2 separate regions of the Homo sapiens genome follow, and region 1 is linked to region 2. The links are contacts of gene promoters, found by promoter capture Hi-C in human tissues and cell types (Jung and others, 2019). All regions are on one chromosome and are shown on one strand. The core of a region is centred on a gene start or on the middle of the fragment in contact, and the rest is flanking DNA. Distances in the headings are between cores, read along the strand shown.

Evidence for each region. Contacts are between HindIII fragments. The study calls those that stand out against the background at their distance.
Region 1: a fragment that was not itself captured here is called in contact with the fragment with the promoter of FAM50B in region 2 in 1 of the 25 tissues and cell types used here (aorta).

What each region holds. Positions count from the first base shown.
Region 1 is chr6:3,353,855-3,359,984 of GRCh38, forward strand. All of the region lies in intron 3 of SLC22A23 (solute carrier family 22 member 23), which reads right to left. Among named protein-coding and RNA genes, the nearest start is that of PSMG4, 98 kb to the left of the region's middle. RefSeq lists an enhancer at 2,289-3,179. The HindIII fragment of the contact is 4,734 bases long and covers 824-5,557 here.
Region 2 is chr6:3,845,159-3,851,328 of GRCh38, forward strand. It overlaps FAM50B (family with sequence similarity 50 member B), which reads left to right and starts at 4,215. Exons shown (of 2, transcript NM_012135.3): 1 at 4,215-4,328; 2 at 4,631-6,159. The coding sequence starts at 4,654. The coding sequence ends at 5,631. LOC107986557 (a long non-coding RNA gene) reads right to left here and starts at 4,208. Exons shown (of 3, transcript XR_001743931.2): 1 at 4,158-4,208; 2 at 3,231-3,491; 3 at 1-934. RefSeq lists a silencer at 3,889-4,008 and an enhancer at 4,279-4,398. The HindIII fragment of the contact is 6,203 bases long and covers 384-6,170 here.

The DNA.
Region 1 (6,130 bases), core at 1,941-4,440, 490 kb before region 2:
CCCAGTTCTGGCCCAGAGCATGACAGCATCGAGGAAGCCTCATGCAGAGGCTCCTTACAGATCCCAGACTACCAACTTTTCCAGGTCTCCTATGCGTGGGCTGCTTTACTTTCTCTAAGAAGGCACAAGGAAAAATGCTGGTCCTTGGGTCGGTTGACTGAATCCTTTGATGTGACAGGTAGCTAAGCCACTTATCTGGACCCATAAACCTCCTTGGCAGGCCTGATTGGATTGTGGAAATTTCGATGGTGATCACATGTGTTTTCTCCTTAGAGTTGGCATGGCCAAGACAAGAGCCACATGCAACTTCTAAGCAAAACACACACACAGGCTCACACAAACACATAGCATGGTGCACTCCCAACGGAGAGGCAGTCAGGGCATTGGATGGGCAAAGACACTCCTTTCAGGACCCTTCAAAGGTAAATTCAACAGGAAGTGCACATTTACGGAGGAGCAAGTGACTAAAGGCACTCACAGACTTTTCCTTCTCTTGACTTGTGTACCTTTACATCTTTACATGAGGTGGGTTGGGTAAACAAAAGAAAATCTCAAGAAGATTCAGATTCTCTTTCCATGTCCCTGCTGCATTTAATAAGTTCCTCGATTGTAGTGACCACTGTACTGTGGTCAGATCCATCGATATAGCAGAGACTCTGTGCCTCAAAGGCAAGGCAATGTCTTTCCATCCTCAAGAGACCCAGCATCCAGCAGGCACTCAAGAAAGGATGGGTGAACCATTTATTAGTGGGTAAAGCAATGGATGAACTGAAACACAGTCTGTTTTTAGTTGATGTCCCAGTAAGAGTGTTAGGGGGAAGTCAAGGTGTTGGAGGGGTTGCTCTAGATTTCAATGATCCACACCATCTCTAATTTCTTACTAATTAATCAAATAGTGAATGTCTAACAAATGGGGAAGGTACTATGCTGGGCCAAGTAGCCATGTAATGGGTTTCTGAATCTCATAATTCAACATCATCTTCTTCAACTGACACTTGTCTTTCCAGGTCAATTAAGCAGGCAGCCTCATTAGTTCATGGGTAGACAACACGCAGAACAGACAAAGCAGGACCTGAGGGCCAGAGGGTGACAGTATCTAACTCTGCCCCTAAAAGCACAAGGCATTTGGACAATTTGTGCTACACTCTTTCCTTTAAACAGGCAACAGGAAAAACAATAAAAGATATTCCTACTACCGAGTTTATAAAAACACAAACAAAAAAAACCAGCGCCTCTCCACATGGCAGTATTCAAATCCTTATCTTTGGGCTCCTACCCTCTATCTGCTTGGAAACAGCTCCCTGTCTTTGTGGCCGCCACCCTCCCCAGCTAAAAAAAAAAAAGTCTCCCTCCAAATACTATCCAGTAGCTCTTCAAATAAAATGGGATGAATAGAGAGGCCTTGATAACCACCAGTTTTCTCATCTTCAAACTGGAAATCAGAAATAATATCAGTAAAGACATCGACTTATTAGGTACAGTGAGAAGCCTTTGAACTTAAAAGACGGGAGGAAGACAAGCATGCTGCTCGTGGGTTCGTCACACCCTGTTCTATGCAACAAAGCAACCCTCCCTGGGTCGAGAAAAAAAATCTCCATGATGATCTCTTAGAAATATAAATGTATTTATAGATAGATATTTTCCCTCTTACCATGTGTATAAGAGAACAGGACGTTGCTGGGCAGAGGGAAGTTATTGTGTGAAGGCCAAGGTCATAACAAGGTTACCGTTCTCATGAGTCTGGGCTAGGTCTGGGCCCTCCCGCCCCGCTCCCTGTATCAGCCCCACTCCCAGGCTCCAGAGCTAGGCCACTTGATGCCTGGTCAGTCCTTTCTGTGCCTTCCCAAATTTACTCTCAATTTCTGGCTCATCTACTATTCTCATTTGCTATTTCTTAAGTTCTGGGCCACGGGAGCCCAAGGTCTCACTCAGCCCTGCACAAACCCCAGCTCTCAAAGCCGGCGTCGCTCTCACTCATTCCCTGTCTCCGCATCGACACGGAGGAGCCACTGGATATAACGCTGAGGTATTAAAAAAAGAAGGAAGTTCAGAAAAACAAACACAGTACGACAGCATTTGTAGGAAGTTTTTTTTTAAAGGCAAAACTGTACAACGCAGTGTTCTAGATGTGGGAAAACCTAACGAAACTCATGAGGATGAAAAACAGCAAACGGGGTGGGGAGACTTGTGGACAGGGGAGGGGGAGGAGGCGGGGGGCGCGGGAGGGGGAGGAGGCGGGAGGAGGCGGGGGTGGGTGGAGGCGGGAGGGTGGGACTTATTAATGAGGCTTGTTTCCGAGTCCGGGTAGCAGATACACGTGACATCAGAAACATCTCATAATCACGAAAGAAATCGAAGCACGCGTGCTCTCTCGGGAGGGCCCTCCTTCTGCGTGCCAGCCCTTGGGATCTGGACTTCTGGCTCCTGGAAACATTCAAAAGGAAACCGGTGGGCCATGGAACCGCTGACAGGATTGGATGGTAAAACAGTGTCTTAGATCCACCCTCGGTGCCTACAAGGGTAACAGGCCACACCCCCATCTCAGAGATGGCAGCGACCTCATCCAAGGGGCAGGGGAAGCCTCAGAGGAGTGATTTTAGCAGCCTCTCACTTCCTCATTTGCCTGTGAAAATAAAGCTGACCCTAAACTTACCGGCTCTGCACTACCCTCCCGCTGGCTGCTTCATTGTCCTGGGCAAATCTTCAGCCCCAGAGACAGTAGTGTTTATTTTAGAACCAAACCCGCTGGCCAGGACACCATCCACGTGAAACATTTCTTCCTAAGCCTGAAGCTTTGTTGTAACCCTGTTGTCTTCCTCCTTATTGGCTCAGCAGTGAGATGGGCTGGCTTGAACCTCCAGGTCTTGAAACCTGCCCAAGATACCAACAACCACCTGTAATAAGGTGCAGGATCCCGCTCAAGCCCTTCAGAGCATCTGTGGATGTGTTACCTCATATGCCCTCACCAAATCCTATAAATAAGAATATCAAGTAGTATCCCCATTTCCAAGATGGGAAATGGCCCCTTCAAAGGTCAGGTCACCGACACTGTGATGCAGGTGGTGTCTCTAGGAGAGGCGCAGGCTTCTAGATCCCAACTGTCGTGGTTTGTTCTAAAGGCTGCAGCAGCCTGGACCATAAAGACAATTTTAAAGCAGTAAACCTAGCAATACAGCCTGGAAGAGAAAACCAAAACAGAGCCAAAAAAAAAAAAAAAAAAAAAAAAAAAACCCAAAACAAGGCAGGCACTGTAATGAAATGCTCACATTTACTCCAGTGCCCACATCTGCATTCCCAGAGTCTCAGAAATCCAGCAGGATTCCAATGCCATGGAAATATGTATCATTGTTTTTGCCAAACAAACTCCCTTACCTTAAGCAAAGGTCAAGTACACTGTAAAACTCCCAGTGCAAACAACCAGCTGGAGGACTTATCCCAGCCTCTGTAAAGTCTTTGCTAATAATTATCCAGACAGCTTTCCTAATTTTTATTTTTAAATGGGGTTGTGGCTCAGCAATAGTGTAAGGATTAATCGCCTTATCAATTAGCATGAGGAAAGGACTGCAAATACAAAGTAGGTGTGTTCTTCCTGGCTTTCTACCTGCTCAATTAGGCTCAGGTCTTAAATGATTTCCAAAATTGGACTACATCTACTGTGTTTACTTCATTCTAAATATCAAAAAGATATCTAAAAGCTTATCATAAAAAAATTTAGAATTTCCCTTTTTGGTTACCAGCCTAAAAGCTCCTTAGTTTAGGGACTGTGTTCTTATTCAACAAGCCATGCCCAGCTCCTGGTTCACAGAACACACTGAATAATGACAAATAATGGAAAACAGAAGGCGGCTGTGTATAATGAATGCATTTCATTCACTTATTCAGCAAGGAGGATGAGGTAGCACCATGCCAGGGGAGATGCCGAGATGAAGCCACACCACCGGCCTCAAGGGGCTCACAGTCTGATGAAGAGACACGTGCCTATAAGACACAGATGGGGTTCTGTGCTACAGGAATGCAAAGAAAGGGACGAGGCCTGGGGAAGACTTCACCAAAGAAGCAGCATTTGAATCTTCCCTTAAGGGAAAAGGAAGTAGGACTGTCCTGCCATGTGGGTGAGGGGAAGGGAAGAGGCCTGGGAGGAGAGTTTTCAGAGAGGCAACCAGCTCTTGCAAAGGCGGCCAGTGCAGAAGAGGCTAGACAGGTTAGGTTCTCAGTATCAAAGTCCCCAGGATGGAGAGAAATTGGAACCTTTAAACACTGTTGGTAGGGATGCAAAAATGGTGCAGCCATTATGGAAAACAGTATGGCAGTTCCTCAAAAAACTAAAACTAGAACTGCCATATGATCCAGTGATTCTACTTCCAGGTACTTATCCAAAAGAATTGAAATTAGGATCTCAAAGCACTTGACGTGAGCGCTCCCACGTTCACTGCAGTGTTATCCACAACAGCCAAGATATGGAAACAACGCAGAGGTCCACTGATAGGTGAAGGGACACACGAAACACAGTGAAAAATACAATAGAATATGATTCCGCTTAAGAACGAATGAAATTCTGACACGTACGACACGTGGATGAACTTGGAGGAATTATGTTAAGTGAAATAAGCCAGTCACAGAAGGACAAATACTACATGATTCCACTTACATGAGGCATGTAAAAATAGGCAAATTCAGAAAATCAAAGAGTGGGCTGATGGTTGCCGGGGGTAGAGGGAGGGAGACATGGGGAGTTGCTCGTCAACTAGCATCAGCTTTCAGGCAGGCGAGATGAATAAGCTCTGGAACTCTGCTGCACACATTGTGTCTATAGTTCACGATACTGTGCTGTACACTGAAAAAACCTGTTAAGAGGGTGGGTCTCATGTTAGATGTTCTTACCACAAATAAAATTAAAAAATAAAATAAAAAAGGCCCCAGGAGAGTTTCTGTTTCATCAACCCAAGGAAAACACCGGAAGGAGTCACAGCTCCAGTGAGGAAGAAGTGAGAAGGGATCTGCCATCGGGGGCTGGAGGGATGGTGGGAACCTTTGCCATTTCAAAGGGAAGCCCTGGCTCCCCTCGGGCACAGCATCCTGGGTGGGGTCTGCACCCCGAGCTGCCACCCATTGCATTTCCATGTCAGCGCCATGTCAGGTGCGCTGTGCCGATGTCTAATCAAGTCTCAGTCATTCAGGATGAAGAGAGAATAGGGAATTCAAAATACATAACTGCAAAAATGAAAGCTCCTTTATTAATTTAGTGCAATACAGAGACGTCCCAGAACAACACGGGCTGCATCCAGAATCACAGATCATTTCAACTAAGAAAAAGATGGGCACCGAGAAGGAGAGCGAGGAACATGCCAGCTGAGACTCATTTCATTCTAGGACAGTACTAGAATGAGCATCTCACTGGGAATTCACCGCCCTCAGGCAGATAACAGATGCTGCTAAGCTATGCTAGCTGGTGTTGCCACGTTTATTCTTCATCACTGAGTGGTTCTCCTTAGGTCACACATATAACTATCCATCTGAGTGCAAGTTTAAAACAAAACAAAAACTGAAGAGGACATACAGATGGCCAAGAAGCACATGGAAAGATGCTCAACGTCACTGTCATCGGGGAAATGTACATCACAGCGACAATGTGGTAGCCCTTCACATCCATCAGGATGGTAGCTGCTGTCAAACAAACAGGAAATAACAAGTGCTGACAAGAATGTGGGGAAACTGGAACCCTGGTGCACCAGTACATTCCTGGTGGGAATGTACAACGGTGCAGCCAACTGGAGAAAACAATATCCCTGTTCTTCATAGAATTAAACAGAGGATTACCATCTGACTCAGCAATGCCACTTTTGGGTATAACCCCCCAAAAGTGAAAGCAAGGACCTGAAATGATATTTGCACACCTATGTTCACGGCAGCATATTCACAACAGCCAAAAGGTGGGAGCAACGCAGGTGTCCATCAACAGATGAATGGATAAGAAAATGTGATCCATCCAGAGGATGAAATATAACTCAGCCTTAAAAAGGGAGGCCATATCCAACATATGCTATAGTATAAAGGAAGCATTTTTTCTTTTTTTCTTATTTTCACTTATTTTTGTCCTTAGAGGTCCTTGTTCTGAGGGAATCCTGAAGAC
Region 2 (6,170 bases), core at 2,965-5,464:
AAGTTATCATCTTGGAACTTAGGGGAAAATTCTACAGAACAGTATATCAGACTTTTAGGATAAATCTCCTTCTTTCTAGTTGTTTTTCTTGTTAAACTTTTCTGAGAATTTGAGGCTCAACCTTTTAATTCTGGGAGCTGGCTATAGTATTTGGAGGCCGTGACTGAGTTCAGGAGGTGGATGCTGGATAATGGGAGGGTGGATGATAAGGTTTAGGGATGATATTGACATTCAAGTTCTGATTCGATTAGAGAAAGAGTGAATATAGTATTTGTGGCCAAACGATAGTCGATTGAATTAAAGTTTAGTTGGTTGGATCATTTAACTGAAAAAAAGAGGTGGAGAGGCTATCTTATTTATGTTAAGTGTAATAAAGGTAATTATATGGGAAACCTGAGAGAGGAGACTATTGGTAATTTTGTCCATCTGTGGGTGGTGATGGTGATGGTGGGTGCTCCAGGCTTCCTCTTGGAGATGACATTTGTGCTGATCTTCAGGGATAGCACAGCGAAGGGCAGGACTTTCTAGAAAGAGTACGTCCAGAGGTAACAGTTATGAAAGGGCAACTTTTTTTTTAGATGAAGTCTTTCTGGGTCACCAGGCTGGAGTGCAGTGGTGCGATCTTGGCTCACTGCAACCTCCATCTCCTGGGTTGAAGCAATTCTTCTGCCTCAGCCTCCCGAGCAGCTGGGACTACAAGGCATGCACCACCACACCCAGCTAATTTTTTTTATTTTTATTTTTATTAGAGACGGGGTTTCACCATGTTGGCCAGGATGGTCTCGATCTCTTGACCTCGTGATCCACCCGCCTCGGCCTCCCAAAGTGCTGGGATTACAGGTGTGAGCCACTGCGCCTGGCCTGAAAGGGCATCTTCTATTCAGGCGCAGTGAAAAAGCTGGGTGAATGCTGCAGGGGTCCACCTATTAGAGACCTTAGAGGACAAACAAAGAGATTCTGATGTGGCTGTTACAAGGGAAGTTGGAGTTTTTCAAGTAGGAGAGTAATGTTATCAGATTCATTTTTTATGAAGATCTCTGAGGATATTGTATAGAAGTTAGACAAGAACAAGAATACAGGCATACCTCGGAGATACTGTGGGTTCAGTTCCAGACCACCACAAAGACAGTCACACAAATTTTTAAATTTTCTAGTGCATATAAAAGTTATGTTTATACTATACTATAGTCTAGTAAGTGTGCAGTAGCATTTTGTCTAAGAAAATAATGTGCATAATTTCATTAAAAATACTTAATTGCTAAATAATGCTAATGATCCTCTGAGCATTCAGTGAGCTGTGCTCTATTTGCTGGTGGAGGGTCTTGCCTCAGTGTTGATGGTTGCTGACTGATCAGGGTGGTGGTTGCCAAAGGCTGGGCCTGTGGCAGTTTCTTAAATCAATATTGAGTTTGTCACATTGATTGATTCTACCTTTCACGAAAGATTTCTTTGTAACATGTAATGCTGTTTGAATCAACTTCTTCCAAACTTCTGTTAATGTTGATATTTTACCTCCTCCCAAAAACTGTGAATGTCCTTCATGGCACCTACAGTGGTGAATGCCTTCCAGAAAAATTTCAATTTACTTTGCCCAGATCCATCAGAGAAATCATTACATACAGCAGCTATAACCTTTGGAAATGTATTTCTTAAATAATAAGACTTAAAAGTCAAAATTACTCCTTGATCTATGGGTTGCAGAATGGATGTTGTGTTAGCAAGCATGAAATCAACTTTAATCTCCTTGAGCATCTCCATCAAGCTCTTAGGTGACCAAGTGCATTGTTAATGAGTAATAATATCTTGAAAGGAATAATCAGAGCAGTAAGTCTCAACACTGGGCTTAAAAATATTCAGTAAACCATGCTGTAAACAGATGTGCTGTCCTCCAGGTTTTGTTGTTCCATTTACAGAGCACAGGCACAGTAGATTTAGCATAATTTTTAAGGGCACTAAGATTTTCAGAATGGTAAGTGAGCATTGGCTTCAACTGAAAGTCTCCAGCTACACTAGCCCCTAGCAAGAGAGTCAACCTGTCCTTTGAAGCCATGAAGCCAGGCATTGACTTCTCCTCTCTAGATATAAAAGTCCTAAATGGCATCTTCTTCCAATAGAAGGCTATTTTGTCTACATTGAAAATGTATTGTTTAGGGTAGCCTCCGTCATCAGTGCTCTTAGCTAGATCTTCTGGATAACCTGCTGCAGCTTCTCCATCACACTTGCTGCTTCACCTTGCACTTTATGTTATAGAGGTGACTTCCTTCCTCAGCCTCATGAACCAACCTCTGCTACCTTCAGACTTTTCTTCTGAAGCTTCCTCACCTCTCTCAGCTTCACAGAATTGAAGAGACTTAGGGCCTTGCCCTGGATTAGGCTTTGGTTTAAGGGAATGTCGTGGCTGGTTTGATCTTCTATCCAGACCACTAGAACTTTCTCCATATAAGCAATAAGGCTGTTTTGCTTTCTTATCATTCATATGTTTACCAGGAAAGCGCTTTCAGTTTCATTCAAGATTTTTTTCCTTTGCATTCACAACTTAGCTAACTGTTTGGCAAAAGAGGCCTAGCTTTTGGCCTATCCTGGCTTTTGACATACTTTCCTCACTGAGCTGAATCATTTCTAGCCTTTGATTTAAAGTGAGAGACGTGTGACACTTCTTTTCACTTGAACACTTAGAGGCCATTGTAGGGTTATTAATTGGCCTAATTTCAATATTGCTGTGTCTCAGGCACTAGGGAAGCCTAGGGACAGGAAGAGAGATGAAGGAACAGCCAGTCAGTGGAGCAGTCAGAACATACATAACATTTATCAGTTAAATCAATAAACGTCTTTGTCTTCTACTGCACACTTCGGAGTGCCCCCAAACAATTACAATAACCTCACAGAACGATGATCACAGATCACCATAGCAGATATCACAATGAAAAAGTCTGAAATATTGCAAGAATTACCAAAATGTGACACAGGAACACGAAGTGAGCACATGCTGCTGGAAAAATGGAGCCAGTAGGCGCTTGACGCTGTGTTGCCACAAATCTTCAATTTGTAAAAACAAAAACAAAACACACAGTATCCCAGAGCTCAATAAAATAAGATATTCTTGTATTCTGGTGATGGGGCAACAATGAGAAGGCTTTAGATTAAAAAAAATGCTAATTTCCTAGATTAAGGCAAGTGGTGGGGAATGGGAGAAAAAGGAAAGTGTGAAAGGCTCTTCTGTAATTGATTACCTGTGGAGGAACGTCATTCCAGGAAAAGGCCTAGGTTTCTGGCTTGGACAATTTGATGAGGGCTCACACCGTGCTGTTCTCCTCTGGATATGTGGGTGCCATATGTAATTATCATATGATTCACGCTTCTTGGTAAGGTTATGCTCACAGGCATTGTTGCTCTTAGGCGGGAGGAGGCTGAACCGCAGTATGTATTTCACAACCAGCTTTTCCAAACTAGGTCCCAGGAAGCACTGGTTTCGGCGAGTGTTACCAGATCTCCTGCAGGGGAGAAACGGTCACGAAACATGAACTGGTCTGCCCTGCTCTTGGAGAGTTACAGTGGAAACTGGCATGTTAGAGGCTCACAGTAAAGACACTGCTACACTTTAACTCAGTGTCCCATGGTTATTAGAGCTTAGAACCCGGGGGAAACTGCTGTATAGAAGAGGTCAAACAAGCTGAGTGCAGGTTTTGTCACGAAACTGGGGGGCGAGTAGGGTTCTATTATCAAAGAATGGTTGTGTTGGGGCCATAAGAAAGAATTACAGGCAGTGGTGCGCAGGTAATGTTCACGAGACGCCACAGCGGGGTAGCATCAGAGGCGGGAGGAGGAGGGTTGGAGAGCAGGGCCGTGTTGCAAGGCTCTCTGGGTGGCCACAGCAGCTTGCGCTGCGCCCACATTGCTTCTGCGTGTTTACAGTTGGGCACGAGAAGGCTCAGCACGCACGCACAGCAGGTGGGGGCCCGCCCTGCCCACAGCGTGAAAACAGGAGCCCCGGCCAGCCACGGCTGGGCAGGGCCAGAAGCGCCTCCTCCAGGATCCTCCCCGCGCTGGCCCGCCCCACAGGAGCACCGCCCCTACCAGGAGCCCGGAGCTCTTCCCAGGGCCCGCCTCCCCGCCAGGGGGCGATCCACCTCCACTTCCTGTTTCCGCAGCCGCCCTACCAGGAGCCTGGCACTCTCCTCAGGGCCCGCCTCCCCGCCAGGGGGCGCACCGCCTCCACTTCCTGTGTCCACGGCTGTCGCGAGAGCCCGGGGCGAGTGGGCCTCTGCTCGTGGGTGGTTCTCGTGGAGGTCAGCTCCCGCGTGTCTCCGCTCGACAGGGTGCTTGGGCAGGTAAGGGTCCGCTCAGTAGCCCAACCCTCTCTGTATGCAGCTCCCCAAATTCAGCGCTGCGCTCAGGCATGGCAGCCACCCGTTACGTGGGGCCGTTCGCATTTGCATTTATTGAGGTCAAATAAAATGCTGGAAATTGGTGCCTGGTGACACTGTCAGGTTGGTGGTTACCCTAGCAGGTCGGCCCAGCCCCTGAACGCTTCCATCACTGCCGAAAGCCCTGTGAGGAGGCGCAGAGCTGAGCATTCCCCGCCGTTGCGTGGGCCCCCCTCTACCTGCCGCGTTTTTCCTCTTTGCTGCAGAGCCCATCGGGTAGGCGCGGGCCATGGCGCAGTACAAGGGCACCATGCGCGAGGCAGGCCGTGCCATGCACCTCCTCAAGAAGCGCGAAAGGCAGCGGGAGCAGATGGAGGTGCTGAAGCAGCGCATCGCCGAGGAGACCATCCTCAAGTCGCAGGTGGACAAGAGGTTCTCGGCGCATTACGACGCCGTGGAGGCCGAGCTGAAGTCCAGCACGGTGGGCCTGGTGACCCTGAACGACATGAAGGCCCGGCAGGAGGCCCTGGTCAGGGAGCGCGAGCGGCAGCTGGCCAAGCGCCAGCACCTGGAGGAGCAGCGGCTGCAGCAGGAGCGGCAGCGGGAGCAGGAGCAGCGGCGCGAGCGCAAGCGTAAGATCTCCTGCCTGTCCTTTGCACTAGACGACCTCGATGACCAGGCCGACGCGGCCGAGGCCAGGCGCGCCGGAAACCTGGGCAAGAACCCCGACGTGGACACCAGCTTCCTGCCAGACCGCGACCGCGAGGAGGAGGAGAACCGGCTCCGAGAGGAGCTGCGCCAAGAGTGGGAGGCGCAGCGCGAGAAAGTGAAGGACGAGGAGATGGAGGTCACCTTCAGCTACTGGGACGGCTCGGGCCACCGGCGCACGGTGCGGGTGCGCAAGGGCAACACGGTGCAGCAGTTCCTGAAGAAGGCGCTGCAGGGGCTGCGCAAGGACTTCCTGGAGCTGCGCTCCGCCGGCGTGGAGCAGCTCATGTTCATCAAGGAGGACCTCATCCTGCCGCACTACCACACCTTCTACGACTTCATCATCGCCAGGGCGAGGGGCAAGAGCGGGCCGCTCTTCAGCTTCGATGTGCACGATGACGTGCGCCTGCTCAGCGACGCCACCATGGAGAAGGACGAGTCGCACGCGGGCAAGGTGGTGCTGCGCAGCTGGTACGAGAAGAACAAGCACATCTTCCCCGCCAGCCGCTGGGAGGCCTATGACCCCGAGAAGAAGTGGGACAAGTACACCATCCGCTAACACCCGCCTGCCAGAGCGGAAACCGGGGGTGGGGGGAGACACTCATTTCTAGGCCCCATCACCAGTCACTTGATTTCGTGACCTTGATTTCTTCCCCCAAATTTAATAAAGACAGAGGGTTCTCATGATTCACATTGGTTGTGCTATTGCTGATGTTATGCTTTGGTTGCTTGGTTGGTCTTTTCTGAGTATTTTAGTGTTGCCACCTGGATTTGCTGCATTGCTCTGCTGAGCTGTATTGAAACCATGACTGGGCCCACTGTCAGACAGAAATTAGAATAGGAGGCACATTTTTTACCTGGTGGTTATGAGCATGGACTTGGGGGCCACAGTGACTGAGTTTGATTCCCGACACAGCCTCCTCCTTGCTGTGTAGTTTTGGGTAAGCTTATTAAACCCCCATGCCTCAGTTTGGTCACCTGTAAAAGGAAATAACAAGAGCACTTACTTTATAAGATTGATGTGAGTATTAAGTGAATTAATATTTGTAAAACGCTTAGCTCTTAATAAATGTTTCTGTTGTTATTATTATGGTTTTG